4 separate regions of the Homo sapiens genome follow, and regions 2, 3 and 4 are each linked to region 1. The links are contacts of gene promoters, found by promoter capture Hi-C in blood cells and fetal thymus (Javierre and others, 2016). All regions are on one chromosome and are shown on one strand. The core of a region is centred on a gene start or on the middle of the fragment in contact, and the rest is flanking DNA. Distances in the headings are between cores, read along the strand shown. Region 1 holds the start of ARPC2 (actin related protein 2/3 complex subunit 2). Region 2 overlaps STK36 (serine/threonine kinase 36). Region 3 overlaps PLCD4 (phospholipase C delta 4). Region 4 overlaps USP37 (ubiquitin specific peptidase 37).

Region 1 (3,348 bases), core at 557-3,056:
GCTAAGGCAGGTGGATCACTTGAACCCAGGAGTTTGAGACCAGCGTGCCCAATACGGCCAAACCCCGTCTCTACAAAATATACAGAAATTAGCCCAGCTTGGTGGTGCATGTCTATAGTCCCAGCTATTTGGCAGGCCGAGGCAGGAGGATCACCTGAGCTCGGGAGGCGGGCAGTGAGCAGAGATAGCAACGTCACTCCAGCTTGGGTGACAAGAGTGAGACACCATCTCAAATTAAAAAAAAAAAAAAAAAAAGGCCGGGCATGGTGGCTCACGCCTGTAATCCCAGCACTTTGGGAGGTCGAGGCAGGAGGATCATGATGTCAGGAGTTCGAGACCAGCCTGACCAACATAGTGAAACCCCGTCTCTACTAAAAATACAAAACATTAAAAGGGCATGGTGGCAGGCACCTTTAATCCCAGCTATTTGGGAGGCTGAGGCAGGAGAATCGCTTGAACCGGGGAGGCAGAGGTTGCAGTGAGCCGAGATCATGCCATTGCACTCCAGCCTGGGCAAGAGTGCAAGACTCTGTCTCAAAAAAAAAAAAATTTAAGTTAGCGTATAATTTTAGGGGATCAGCAATATCCTGAAGCTTATCCATAGCCCGTTAAGTAATGTTTCAAAGGGCTATCTGTGCCTTAATGATAGGAGCTAGTTTCTTGTTCATTTTTTTATCCCCATCCCCAAACACATAGCAGAAAATAAATTATTTCCTTGTATGTAGAACGGACTCAGCTAAGTTTATTATATTCTCCCCGGAGGAGGGAAAACACAAAACAAGGCACAAAGGCAGAAGGTGCAGATGTAGCACAACGATGAGTTAAGATTCCGCACGCAGGTAACAAGGAGGGTATGGTATATCTCTGCCAGAGGTACTGGAAGGTTTCAAAGGCAGAAAAAAATGTGTTCCGGACACCTGGACGCAGAATTGGAGGCATGACAGGAACACAGGGAGGCCCATCTAAGTTGCCTATTCACCCAGGTGACCTCTCTTTCATTTCTTTAATTGTCCTTTTAACAATATGGGGAATTTCACCCAAGGAAAGGGTCCTCTTCTCGCCCCAGCAGGCAAGGGGTGTTCCTCCAGCGCAAGTTCCGGCCCCAGCTGCCCCCACGTCCCACAGGTCTCCTGCCTTTTGGCACGCACACTCCTGACCACTCGCTGCTTCCGCATCCCTACTCTGATCCTCTCCCCATGCATCTCTGCCTCCTTAGACAACTGAGAATTTTATTGTCTGTTTCCTTTGCCAGACTGTAAGTTCCACGAGGGCAGGGCCTCGTCCATTTCATTTACCACTACATCCCCAGTATAGAGCAAGAGCCCATGAAAATGTTTGTTGGAGAAATGAATGCATGATGGTGTCGCTGGACAGCTATACCTGGAAAGAAAAAGAGGCACCCCCATCAAACAAGCTGGGAGCTAAGAAGCCCGCTGGGAGACGACAAGGGCGAGCTTCTTGCGAGGTTTCTGAAATGACAAGACCGGAAGAATGGAGTTGGATCTCTGGGACAAGCGGGAGAGAGAAGCTGAACAGTCAGGCAAGCCTCGGGGAATGACAGCTCCGCGGGGGACGCACTGGTAGGCGGTAGACGTAAGCGGGGTCGGTGGGAAAGTAGACGGTGGGGCGGCGGCATCACACATACGCAAGCGCAGCCTCCGTTTCCTCCGGCGCGCCTGCGCTCGCGTTCACGAGTGGTTGAAGCGGAAATGGCGCCGCGGGGCCGCGCGTCCAGGCGGCGAGCGGAAGTGGGTGTGAGAGCGGAAGTGGCCGGCTAGAGCCGGGGGCTGGGCGGGGACCGGGCTTGTCGGTGAAGCGGCAGTGGCGGCGGCGGCGGCGGCTCGGCAGGCGGGTTCAGGCTTCGGGGGCCAGGTCGGTTGGGTGGGTGGGTGTCTCCACAGTCTGCGTGCGTGGGCCAGCGCGTTCGTCTTACCCTTCCCTCCACCCCGGCCCCTCTCCCCTTCTCCCCTAACCTCCTACCCCACCCAGCCCCACTCAGGGGGCAGCAGGGCCGCTCCCTCCGTCCTTGCCTCCCTTACCCACCCTCACCGGCCCTTGTTTCTCCTTCCCCTGGGGGCAGCCGCCGCCATGATCCTGCTGGAGGTGAACAACCGCATCATCGAGGAGACGCTCGCGCTCAAGTTCGAGAACGCGGCCGCCGGGTGAGCGCGCGCCCGGGGCCGGGGGTGGCGGGGGAAGCAGAGTTGACCCCAGCTAATCCCCAATGTTGTCCAGTCCCCCAGACCTGGAGGAGAGAAATGGGGTGCCTGGCAGGGTGTAGGGGCTGCCCCAGCGGGGTAGACGTGGGAGGCGATTGGGCGCGGCCGGGCGAGGGGCAGAGATGCGTGGGGAGAGGCTCAGAGGAGGGATGCGGAAGCAGCGAGTGGTGAGGGCTGTGCGTGCCAAAGGGCAGGAGACCTGTGGGACGTGGGGGACCCTGGAGCCGGAACTCGCTCCGGAGTAGCCCCCTGCCCTCTGGGGCGAGAAGGGGACCCCTTCCCTGCGTGAAATTCCCCGGCATTGTTCTGAACCCAGAGAGAGCCTGTTTGGAATTGGGTTGGAAGGAGTTTTCAGGAATTCCCAGGACTGGAGGAGGGAAGGAGATGCAGGCCCACATCGCCACCAGCATTCTCGTTCCCCACCCCCATCTCCTTTAAAAGGAGCAGAAGAGAAGACTAAAAGCCGACCCAGTCTTAGAGCCGGAAAAACGCGATCTCTGGTTTCCCTTCCCCGAACCCTTCTGTGAGAGACACTGGGCCATTTTGTTACATATTTTTAAAGCAAAGCCAATTGTCCCTCGCTCCACACCCCTTCCTTATCTCTCCTTTGAGGTTCTAATGCTCTCTCCTCACCCACTAGCCTTTATCTGGTTATCTTGTAAATTCTTACATCAAGACCCTAGGTCTGTGATTTCTTCTGTGGTAGCCCTGGCCCAGTTACACACTTCAAAGACTCCAGAATCTATAAAGTTCTTAGATAACCTGTCTTTACGATTGGACTTTTTAAAAGATGGGCTTAGGGCATCTTTCCAAGGCAGCCTCTCTGCCAAACACAAGAATCAGTAGAAGACAATCTGCTCCTCCAAAGCTGCTTTGCTTTTCTAGTATAATATTTAAAACATGAGCTAAGGATTTTGGGTTCTAATTTTTGGTGGCCTGTGGCCAGTCCCTTTGCCTCATTTCCCTATGTATGAGCATGGGGCTTCACATCTGGGTTTCACAGTTAATAAGTGCAGACCGTTTCTGGTGAACTGGGAACTAGTAATAGGAAAGTGCTTGCAGATCCACAGATGGGAGAAGATTGGTAGAGGGGAATTTTTAAGTGGTCATAATGTACTTGTGGCTTGGA
Region 2 (3,348 bases), core at 384-2,883, 470 kb after region 1:
TTGGGAGGCTGAGGTGGGAGGATCACTTGAGGTCAGGAGTTTGAGGCCAGCCTGGCCAACATGGTGAAATCCCATCTCTACTAAAAATACAAAAATTAGCTAGGTGTGGTGGTGGGCACCTGTAATCCCAGCTACTTGGGAGGCTGAGGCAGGAGAATCACTTGAACCCAGGAGGCAGAGAGGTTGCAGTGAGCCAAGATTGCACCATTACACTCCAGCCTGGAGGACAAGAGTGAAACTCTGTCTCGAAAAATAAATAAAGGGCAAAAATAAATAAAAATATAATACTATCCTTAGCATGCAGGCTGTATACAAATAAATGTTAGGCTGGATTTGACCTGTGAGCCATAGTTTGTCAACCCTGATCTAGAGTTGAATAATGTTGTTTTGTCTTTCTGTGGTTAAATAATATTGTTTTATATGCATTGTTTTGAATTTTCAGAAGCATGTGCGGTGCACGTGTTTTTTGTTTTTAAGGTGAAGGGCTGGAGAAGGGAGGGAGCAGATGGGAATGGCACTTAGTCTGACAGAGATCCTGAGGAGAGGCCCCTATCCGTTGGTCACTGGTGTTCTGTGTTAGGTAACCTGACCATCTATTGTCTTCTTCCCTGGTACAGTTCCCCTATTTCCCTGCTTTCCTTCTCTGTGTTTTAGACTTGCAAAGAAAGGAATGCAAGCATGTGGTCTGCTTTCCCAGCTCCTTGGGGATGCTTGGTATGTGTAGTTCTCCTTCTTTTACCTCTGAAAATATCAATCGTTGCCTCTTTCCCTCATGTCACCCAGATCCTGAAAGGCATCTTGGAGGGTGCTTCCCACATCCTGCCTGCATTCCGGGTCCTGAGCAGTCTTCTCTCCAGCTGCAGTGATTCTGTTGCCTTGTATTCCTTCTGCCGGGAGGCAGGGCTTCCTGGGCTGCTGCTGAGTCTACTCAGGCACAGTCAGGAGAGCAACAGCCTCCAGCAGGTAAGCACCAGGCCAGAAGCCTCTGAAGACTTACAGAGGTTCTTTTTCTTGGATTTATCTCATTCAGATTGCCATCTCTCTTTGGTCTGACTGCCTTTTATTTTCTTTCCTCCTCTTTCTAGTTAGTAGACTATTAATTGCAAACTCTAATGCCTTCTGGGGCCAGGCAGATAAGGTCTGCCATGAAGTAGGCTATGCATGTGACTATATGAGTTGTGGGGAATATGATGAACTAGAGTTCACATGCCTCCTCTAAATAGAGTAGAGGCATCCTTTCCTCAGCCTCCAGCCCATTGTTGCCACAGGGAAATATGGGCCTGAGAAAACTAGCCAGATCTTCTAGTTTTCTAAGAAAAGGTAGAAACCCAAATTTTTATGTGTAATTTTTAAATATTTAGAGCGCTGTGCTTTGAAATGTTAGATCCTAGGCTTCATTGACCTGATCTTACAGAGCAGAGTACTAAAATTCAGAGGTAACTCATACACAGTCACTAATTTGTAAATGGTCACAGAGATAACAAGTGGAAGAGCTGGGATAGAGACTCAATGTGTTTGGGGCCAAACCTCTACTTCCCCCTGCTGTGTCCTACGGTAGCTGGACTGAGAGGATGGGGAATGTTTCAGAGTCAGTGTAAATGCCTAATAGGGCCTAGGATGAGGCAGCTGGAAAGCTGCACTTTGTTGATGAGTATTAATCTTGGGTGATTTTAAGGAATTTAGAGAAAAAGATTTTTGAAAAATAGAACCTCCTATACTCCAAAATGCTATTCAGGCCAAACAAGACACATTTAATCCAGGCTGTTCACAGCCCATTGGCAGATTCTCTGTTACCCCTAGAACTCTCTCTCTGCCTATACTTCTCTTCTGTCCCTTTCTGTTTGATCAACTTGACTGGGTCTCTATACACCCTTTCTACTGTTTTTTCTATTCTTTGTTTCCATCCTTCACATTGCCCTTACTCTCTTCTCCTTTTCCTGGGCAGCAATCTTGGTATGGGACCTTCTTACAGGACCTGATGGCTGTGATTCAGGCCTACTTTGCCTGTACCTTCAATCTGGAGAGGAGCCAGACAAGTGACAGGTAGGATAAGAAGTGCTTTTGCATTGTTGGCAAGTTTGGCTTCTGTTTCTACCCCAAGTGCCCTTCCCATTTAGGAACAGGCCAAGTATGAAGAAGCTGTGATTTGTTACAGGTTTAGGAATCAGCTGAGTGGCCACTCATAGTCCTTTTAAGGACCCTAAGACAGCTCCAACTTGGCCTCAAGACTTACAGTTTCTAAGAGTCAGCAGTCACCATGGTCCTAAAATGGAAGGGTCAAGATGTGAATAACCTATTCCAGGAAGCCAATTGGATTAAAGAAAGAAAGAAAGAAAAAAAATATGCGAATAACCTAGAGAAAATGGCAAAGAAGGGGCTTGGAGGGTGTATGTGTGTGTGTGGCAAGGGAGAAGGGAGGAACATTCTGATGTGTCCCTTTGCAGAGATTCTCCTACCTGCCCAGGACTGACCCATTCACCACATCCAGGCTTTTAGTAGAGAGATAAGAAATCATGGGCTCATTTTCCACCCCCAGCCTGCAGGTGTTTCAGGAGGCTGCCAACCTTTTTCTGGACCTGTTGGGGAAACTGCTGGCCCAACCAGATGACTCTGAGCAGACTTTGCGGAGGGACAGCCTTATGGTAATCTGCTCCCACTTCCAGATTTCTGTGTCTCCTATCATTCTCCGTGTTTCTCCCATCCCCTTTCTTATGACTATGTAGGGTCAGATCAAGTTAATATGACAAACATTTGTTAAATTCCCACCATGCCATATGCCATGTGAGTAAGAAAAAGTGCCTGCCTTCAAGGGACTAGGGATAATTTAATAGGGGAGAGGTAAAGGGATTAAGGACAACAGTGAAAAGTACATTAGAACTTTGCATATAATACAAGAGCACTGCTGTATTTTATGAAGAAGATGCAGTTAACCACTGCAGAAGATGCACTTAACACTATTTGGAGTATCATAGAAGAAATCTCGAAGAAGGAAATCATCTCTGCTAGCATTTGAAGAATACATCGCAGTTTGCCACGTAAATGAGGCACAAAGTAGAAATTCTATACAGAAAGAGTAACATATATAAAGGCCCAGAGGCTTTAAGCAGTTTGGCATATTTCAGGGGACCACAAATAGAACGACTTCTTCTTGAAAAGACTTGCAGATCATCTAGTATTGTCTAACCTCGTTTGTCCTGAGGATTAGTAGACTATGCAGTTCTTTTCCCTAGATCCTGGAGGTAAGGGACAGGAGAATGGAGGATTGAATGAGAAAATAGCTGTGTTCTGACTAACCTCAGAGGAGATAGAGAGGAACATATATTTGTAAGGAAGTAAATAATTGCCTGG
Region 3 (3,348 bases), core at 320-2,819, 420 kb after region 1:
TAATCCAGGTACAGTGGAAATAAACTGTTGGGAAGAAACTGAGATAACTGGGATAGAAGTGAGGGAAGAGGTGGCTAGGCCTGACCGGAATGTAGAGGCCGGATAGCCTATTAACAGTGTCTAGTTTTAGCTTTTGGAGCCAGCTGCCTAGCTTCAAACCACAACTTCCTAATTGGGTAATGTTGGGCAAGTTCCTTAACCTCTCCATACCTCAGTCTGCTCACCTGCAAAATAGGGGTAACACTACCACCTGCCTCACAGGGTTATAAGGAGTATAACAGTTAATATAAAGTTCTTACAATTCCTGGCACACAGGAAGTGCTATAAAAGAGGCTGGCTGGGAGCGATAGCTTACACCTGTAATCCCAGCGCTTTGGAGGCCAAGGCAGGAGGACTGCTTGAGCCCAGGAGTTTGAGACCAGTCTGAAACTGGTCTCAACAAAAAATTTAAAAATTTTGTAGAGACTCCCGTCTCTACAAAAAATTTAAAAATTAGCCTGGCATGGTGGCACATGACTATAGATAGTCCTGGCTACTCAGGAGGCTAAGGCTGGAGGGTCACTTTAGCCCAGGAGATGGAGGTTGCAGTGAGCTATGACTGCCCCACTGCATTCCAGCTTGGTCAAGAGTATGATCGTGTCTCTTTGAAAAAAAAAAAGTGGCTGCTGTCATTAGCATGCCTACTTTCAAACTGTTGAATTTCTACCTGGATCCATTTAATTTATTTGTTTATTCTGAGACAGAGTCTTGCTCTGCTGCAGGCTGGAGTGCAGTGGCATGATCTTGGCTCACTGCAACCTCCGCCTCCTGGGTTCAAGTGATTCTCCCATCTGAGCCTTCCGAGTAGCTGGGACTACAGGCGCCCGCCACCATGCCTGGCTAATTTTTGTATTTTTAGTAGAGATAGGGTTTCACCATGTTGGCCAGGCTGGTCTCCTGGTTTCAAGTGATCTGCCCACCTCGGCCTCCTGAAGTGTTGGGATTACAGGTGTGAGCCACCGTGCCCGGCCTTTGGGTGCATTTTAAATTGCAGATAGAATACTAGAAGAAAATATATTACCCATGGAGGATGTTTTACAAACCAAAAAGCTTCTTCTCCCCTGGGGTTGGGAGTAGGGTCGGGTGGGGCTGGGCTGAGCAGGAACTTGTGAGATTCCAGAGCCCTGACTACAGGTGATCAGCGGTCAGCAACTCCCCAAAGTGGACAAGACCAAAGAGGGGTCCATTGTGGATCCACTGGTGAAAGTGCAGATCTTTGGCGTTCGTCTAGACACAGCACGGCAGGAGACCAACTATGTGGAGAACAATGGTGAGAAACTGGCAGTGCTGGGGAGGTGGGGGTAGGAGCATGATTAGTTTTCCTTCTAGTCTGTCTTCCATTAAGTATAGCATCTGTTATTGCATGTCCCCACATGGGAGGCAGTGTGGAACAGTACAAAGAATCCTGGCTCTTCACTTAAAAGCTCCAGTGACCTGGGCAAATTACTTGCTTACTCTGAGCCTTTTTCCTTACCTGTAAAATGCTGATTGCCATCTAGATTAAATGAGAACACAAGAAAAGCAACCCAGTCAAGAAAACTGTCATAATGTCTTCTTATTTCTTTCTGTCCACCAACTCAGGTTTTAATCCATACTGGGGGCAGACACTATGTTTCCGGGTGCTGGTGCCTGAACTTGCCATGCTGCGTTTTGTGGTAATGGATTATGACTGGAAATCCCGAAATGACTTTATTGGTCAGTACACCCTGCCTTGGACCTGCATGCAACAAGGTGAGCCAGCCCCTTTGGCCCCTGGCCAATACCCCAGCTCTGGCTGCCTTCCTAATGCTGTCCTCCTGCCCCTTCCAGGTTACCGCCACATTCACCTGCTGTCCAAAGATGGCATCAGCCTCCGCCCAGCTTCCATCTTTGTGTATATCTGCATCCAGGAAGGCCTGGAGGGGGATGAGTCCTGAGGTGGGCATTTCACGGGAAGGGTTGGTGTGCTGGCTTTAGACGGGGAGAAACATCTGGAAGGATGCTCGAGAGAACAAATGGAGGTGGTGAAAATCAAGCTTTGGATTGTGCATTCCTAGGCACAAAATTACCTCATTCTTCCTAACAAGCAATCTGGGACCTGATTTTCCACCTTTTTTCTCTTTTCTTCCCTTCCTTTGTTTTCATAAGCCTTTGGTATCTTTCCTGCCCTTTTCCTTTGTGTACTCTATACTGGAGTTCCCTTCTTCCTCTTGCTGTAGGCTCAATCCCATACCGACATCTACAACTAATCTTTCCCATCAACTCTGTGTGAAGGCAGGTTGCAACTAGAAATTCAGAGGGGCTTGGAATAGAGAAACCTAAAGAAGCATCATCCCCTCCATCCCCAACTTCCTCAAAGCCCAAAGCCAAGGGAAGGATAAATCAAGGCTCAAGGCTTCCCCAGCAAAGATTAGGGAAAGAGACTTGACCCCAGGACTGTACTACGACTCTTAAGAGAACACTGCACAGCACTCAAAGTCCCCCACTGGACTGCTTCCTCCTTAGCCCCACTGGTATAAATACATCTCTCTCCAATTTGGCTTCAATATGGTCTGTCATTGTTGGGCAAGAAGGGGAGGTACAAGGGTTGTGGGGACATCTGGGTAGTCAGGTGAGACAAGGAAAAGGTAGAGAAAGAGGTTCCCAGGAGACCTCTTGCATGTGCTACATAGGAAGGACACAGAGTATGGCTTTTAAGAATCAGGGCAAAAGCAGACAAAAGGTTATGTGGTCCCAGCCTTCCTGAAGAGTCTGGCTGGAACCATCCTGGTTTATGTCTGTTGTCCCAGCATAATTATTAATAGTACCCTCTTTAAGTTTTCCCAGTGTGTCTCAGTTTAGATGATCAATTATATAGTAAGGCACTACAGAATTATACTGTGAAGCAGTTATAGAATTCTGAATTGGAGATTTTCCTCTCTAGTCATCTGCCTTTCCATAGTATCCTTGTGCTTTAACACCTTAGTGTAGCTGCTGAGCCAGTCTGAGGATTGATGATGAGCTAAAGTTGCTTCTAGGAGGAGGCTTAGTGGGTAGCAATCCTCCCTCTATAGATACAGGTAGACAAAGGAGCTTGGAAGTAGGGAGCAGGTCAAGGGTCAAGATGGCTCAAGGACAGGGAGAAGGCAGACCTAGGCCTGTTTCAGTATCAATACTGAGTGAAGATGGAAGGGACAAAAGGGAGGCAGAGGTCTGAGAGGGGACAGAGTTGATCAAGATGACAGCCTGGAAATGTTAAGACAGGGATTTGGATGAATCTATAATGTAGTAACCACTTTCTGTTTAACATGCTTTATAGAGCATTAGGCACAACAGCACATGCGGTTAGAT
Region 4 (3,348 bases), core at 607-3,106, 270 kb after region 1:
TAACATTGAGTATAGGGTTTCTCACATCTGCATGTCCTGAAGAGTCAACTGAAGCATTTGCTAAAAATATTGATTCCTAAGCGCCTATCTCAGACCTACTGAAACAGAACTTCCAGGGAAAAAACACAAAAATCAGTATTTTTAGTGTCTAGGTGACTCTTATTATCACCTAAGTTTGACTCATATTCAAGAAGTATATCAAACTGTCTTCTAGCACTCTAACCAAGAGCACTTCCTAAAAAAGCACCTCACTATGAAAAGCAACTAATAACTTTGGAAAAATTTTAAGCATTTTCTTCAATTACTTCAGGCAGTGATTTAACACTAAAACAAAGTAAAGCAAAATTAAAATCTCCTTCTTGGTCTGATTTCTTTTCTTTTCTTTTCTTTTTTTTTTTTTTTTTGAGATAGGGTCTTGCTCTGATCACCATTCACTGCAGCCTTCATCTCCCAGGCTCCAGCAATCCTCCCACCTCAGCCTCGAGTAGCTGGCACTACAGGTGTGTGCCACCATGCTGGCTTTATTATTTTATTTTTTGTAGAGATGAGGTCATGCTCTGTTGCCATAGGTGGTTTCAAACTCCTAGGCTCAAGCGATTCTCCTGCCTCAGCCTCCCAAAGTGCTGGGATTACAGGCATGAGCCACTGCATCTGGCCATTGATCTGATTTTACCTTGGAGTCATATTATGTAATTCAGTCATTCTTTTGATTAGATACTAAAGCCTTTCTATTTCAAAAGGGAATATAAAGACATAGTCTCTCAAGGACTTACATTGCCATATGTGCACTCCAACCAAGGGTAAAAGGTGGTTTTGTATTTTCAGTGCAATGAGATGACAGGGTCAGGTATCTTGGAATGATGACTTGCTGCCCAATCTTATTGTTAAGCGAGAGAGCCACATTGAAGCTATATCGTTTCAAATGGAGAATGAGGACCCTGAAAAACAGGAGATGACAACCTTACTAATTCATACATAATACATGTATCTTTCTTACAGTAAAAGAGATCACTCTATGTTAGACGACTTTTGATTTAAAAAATCCATTTGGCCAAACCAAAGACACGTCAAAGAATATTTACTGAATACCTGTTAGTGCCAGGCATTGGGCTAGGTAAAAAGCATACAAATAATGGTGGATTAGTGTGGTTTGGGTAAAATACTTATAATGTTCCTAGAAAAAACACAAATAAATAAAATATAGCAGACAAGAATGTTAAATTTGGCACTGATATTGGGTTAAATCCTTAAATTATTTACTTCACTGTTACATAGTTTAAAAAGCAATAGGTTTTATATAACCACTACTAGTAAAATAATGTCTATTAAAATGTTACATAGCTCTTATATTTGATGGTAAACATTAATTACTTCAAGATGATTTTTGATGAGAATTATTCTTTTATTTTCAGAAGTACTTTCTCTGTAGAAAGCTAAGGAGGAAATACAAAACTTTTCCCCATTTAGAAAAAAGCTTTACAAAAATTTGCATGCCAAATCTGATCTGTGGGTCTGTAAAGGCTTTTAGCTCTTTAGAAGCACTGAATTCTTTGTGGTTAAAATTGTGGTAACCTTTTCACTTCTCACACAGAACACGATCTCTGCTTGATGGATTAAATATATTTCTCAACCCACAAGAACACTTTAAAAATTGAATTTCAAACATCTTATGGGAATAAACTTCAGTTCTAGGCACACACACAAAAATGATCTATAAAAAACTGATTCTTACCATATATGCCTTCATCACAGAAGCCACAAACAAAAATTTGCAAACTGAAGTTATAGATTGTAGTTCTCTTTAAAAAGCGTGCTAGAACTCAGGATCTTCAAATATACAATTTGAGAGAATACAAGGACACAACTGATATGAAACCAATGTCAAAATTAAATATTTTAACTAGAATTTCAAATAACCTAACCAAAATAAAAGGTAATATGAGGCTACTCTGGACACACTGCCTATAGTGTAGCCCTGCTATGCATGGAGCAGTAAAAGGTGGGGGGGAAGGTAATATAAAACAGGAAAATGATAGTCAAAATCACTGATCTTCAAAGATGAGGCCCAACTTTGTGAACAGATTTGATAATGGCATCAGGCTCTTCAAGAATAAGAGTGGCTTTGAATATTAAACTGAACAAAAGTAGAACAAGACTAATCATTAGGATTTAAAGAGTGGCTTTGAATATTAAATTGAACAAAAGTAGAACAAAACTAATATTAGGATTTGACAAACAGAAGCTTCTATCACATAAGTCTGGAATAAATTAACCTTTAACACAAGTGATCTACCAGGAAAAAAAAAAAAAAGAAAAAAAAGAAAGAAAAACAAGGAGAAAAATTCCCCTTAGCATTTTTTTCCCCCCACTTGAAAAACCAAATAGCAAGAGAATGGGAAAGAGAAAAGACATCCAGCATGTGAGGTCAAAACTAGTCTTTTTAACTGTACACATAATTTCCTTAGTGACAGCTGGTAACAACCAATTCTTTGCCTTAAGATTCTTCCTCCCACCTTCCTGGCCTCAAACCACTCACAAACAGGAAAGAACAAATTCTCTTAATCCAAAAATATAAGTCTCTTAAGTCAATATAATAATACTGCTATGATTTATACACTTGAGGAGGCCGAGGCGGCCACATCACCTGAGGTCAGGAGTTTGAGACCAGCCTGGCCAACACGGCGCGACCCTGTCTCTACCAAAAACACAAAAATTAGCCAGGCGTGGTGGCGCGTTCCTGTAATCCCAGCTACTCAGGAGGCTGAGGCAGGAGAATCGCTTGAACCCAGGAGGCGGGGGTTGCAGTGAGCCGAGATCATGCCACCGCATTCCAGCCTGGGCAACAGAACGAGACTCTGTTTGAAAAAAACAAAAAACACAACATTTTTTGTAGAGATGGGGGTCTCACCATGTTGCCCAGGCTGGTCTTGAACTCTTGGTCTCAAGCAAACCTTCCACCTTGGCTTCTCAAAATGTTGAGATTACAGGCGTGAACCACCACACCCAGCCTTTATAAAGTCATTTCTTTAAAACCAACTTCCTTGGCCCGGCGCGGTGGCTTATGCCTATAATCCCAGCACTTTGGGAGGCCAAGGCAGGTGGATCACCTGAGGTCAGGAGTTCAAGACCAACCTGGTCAACATGGCAAAACCCCGTCTCTACTAAAAATACAAAAATTAGCCAGGTGTGGTGGCATACAGCTGTAATCCCAGCTACTCGGGAGGCTGAGGCAGGAGAATCGCTTGAACCCGTGAGGCAGAGGTTGCGGTGAGCTGAGATCGTGCCACTGCACTCTAGCCTGGGGGACAGAGCAAGACTCTGTATCAAAACAACAACAACAACAACAAC

What was found. Contacts are between HindIII fragments. The CHiCAGO score rates a contact against its expected background, and 5 or more counts as called.
Region 2: a fragment that was not itself captured here is called in contact with the fragment with the promoter of ARPC2 in region 1 in 1 of 17 cell types (fetal thymus); the score reaches 5.4 in fetal thymus.
Region 3: a contact is called between a fragment that was not itself captured here and the fragment with the promoter of ARPC2 in region 1, in 1 of 17 cell types (non-activated CD4 T cells). The highest score is 5.4, in non-activated CD4 T cells.
Region 4: a fragment that was not itself captured here is called in contact with the fragment with the promoter of ARPC2 in region 1 in 3 of 17 cell types (non-activated CD4 T cells, monocytes and neutrophils); the score reaches 5.8 in non-activated CD4 T cells.

Annotation. Positions count from the first base shown.
Region 1 is chr2:218,215,383-218,218,730 of GRCh38, forward strand. It overlaps ARPC2 (actin related protein 2/3 complex subunit 2), which reads left to right and starts at 1,807. Exons shown (of 11, transcript NM_152862.3): 1 at 1,807-1,872; 2 at 2,081-2,162. The coding sequence starts at 2,089. LOC101928487 (a long non-coding RNA gene) reads right to left here and starts at 1,804. Exons shown (of 2, transcript XR_923908.2): 1 at 1,646-1,804; 2 at 719-1,469. RefSeq lists an enhancer at 1,816-2,419 and a silencer at 1,941-1,990. The HindIII fragment of the contact is 6,430 bases long and covers 592-3,348 here.
Region 2 is chr2:218,687,914-218,691,261 of GRCh38, forward strand. It overlaps STK36 (serine/threonine kinase 36), which reads left to right. Exons shown (of 27, transcript NM_015690.5): 12 at 784-963; 13 at 1,946-2,043; 14 at 2,537-2,642. Among named protein-coding and RNA genes, the nearest start is that of STK36, 18 kb to the left of the region's middle. The HindIII fragment of the contact is 3,676 bases long and covers 1-3,348 here.
Region 3 is chr2:218,634,623-218,637,970 of GRCh38, forward strand. It overlaps PLCD4 (phospholipase C delta 4), which reads left to right. Exons shown (of 16, transcript NM_032726.4): 13 at 1-8; 14 at 1,174-1,309; 15 at 1,621-1,770; 16 at 1,849-2,553. The coding sequence ends at 1,955. ZNF142 (zinc finger protein 142) reads right to left here. Exons shown (of 11, transcript NM_001379659.1): 11 at 1-3,348. Among named protein-coding and RNA genes, the nearest start is that of ZNF142, 23 kb to the right of the region's middle. The HindIII fragment of the contact is 965 bases long and covers 1,088-2,052 here.
Region 4 is chr2:218,481,297-218,484,644 of GRCh38, forward strand. It overlaps USP37 (ubiquitin specific peptidase 37), which reads right to left. Exons shown (of 26, transcript NM_020935.3): 17 at 774-938. Among named protein-coding and RNA genes, the nearest start is that of VIL1, 64 kb to the left of the region's middle. The HindIII fragment of the contact is 768 bases long and covers 1,473-2,240 here.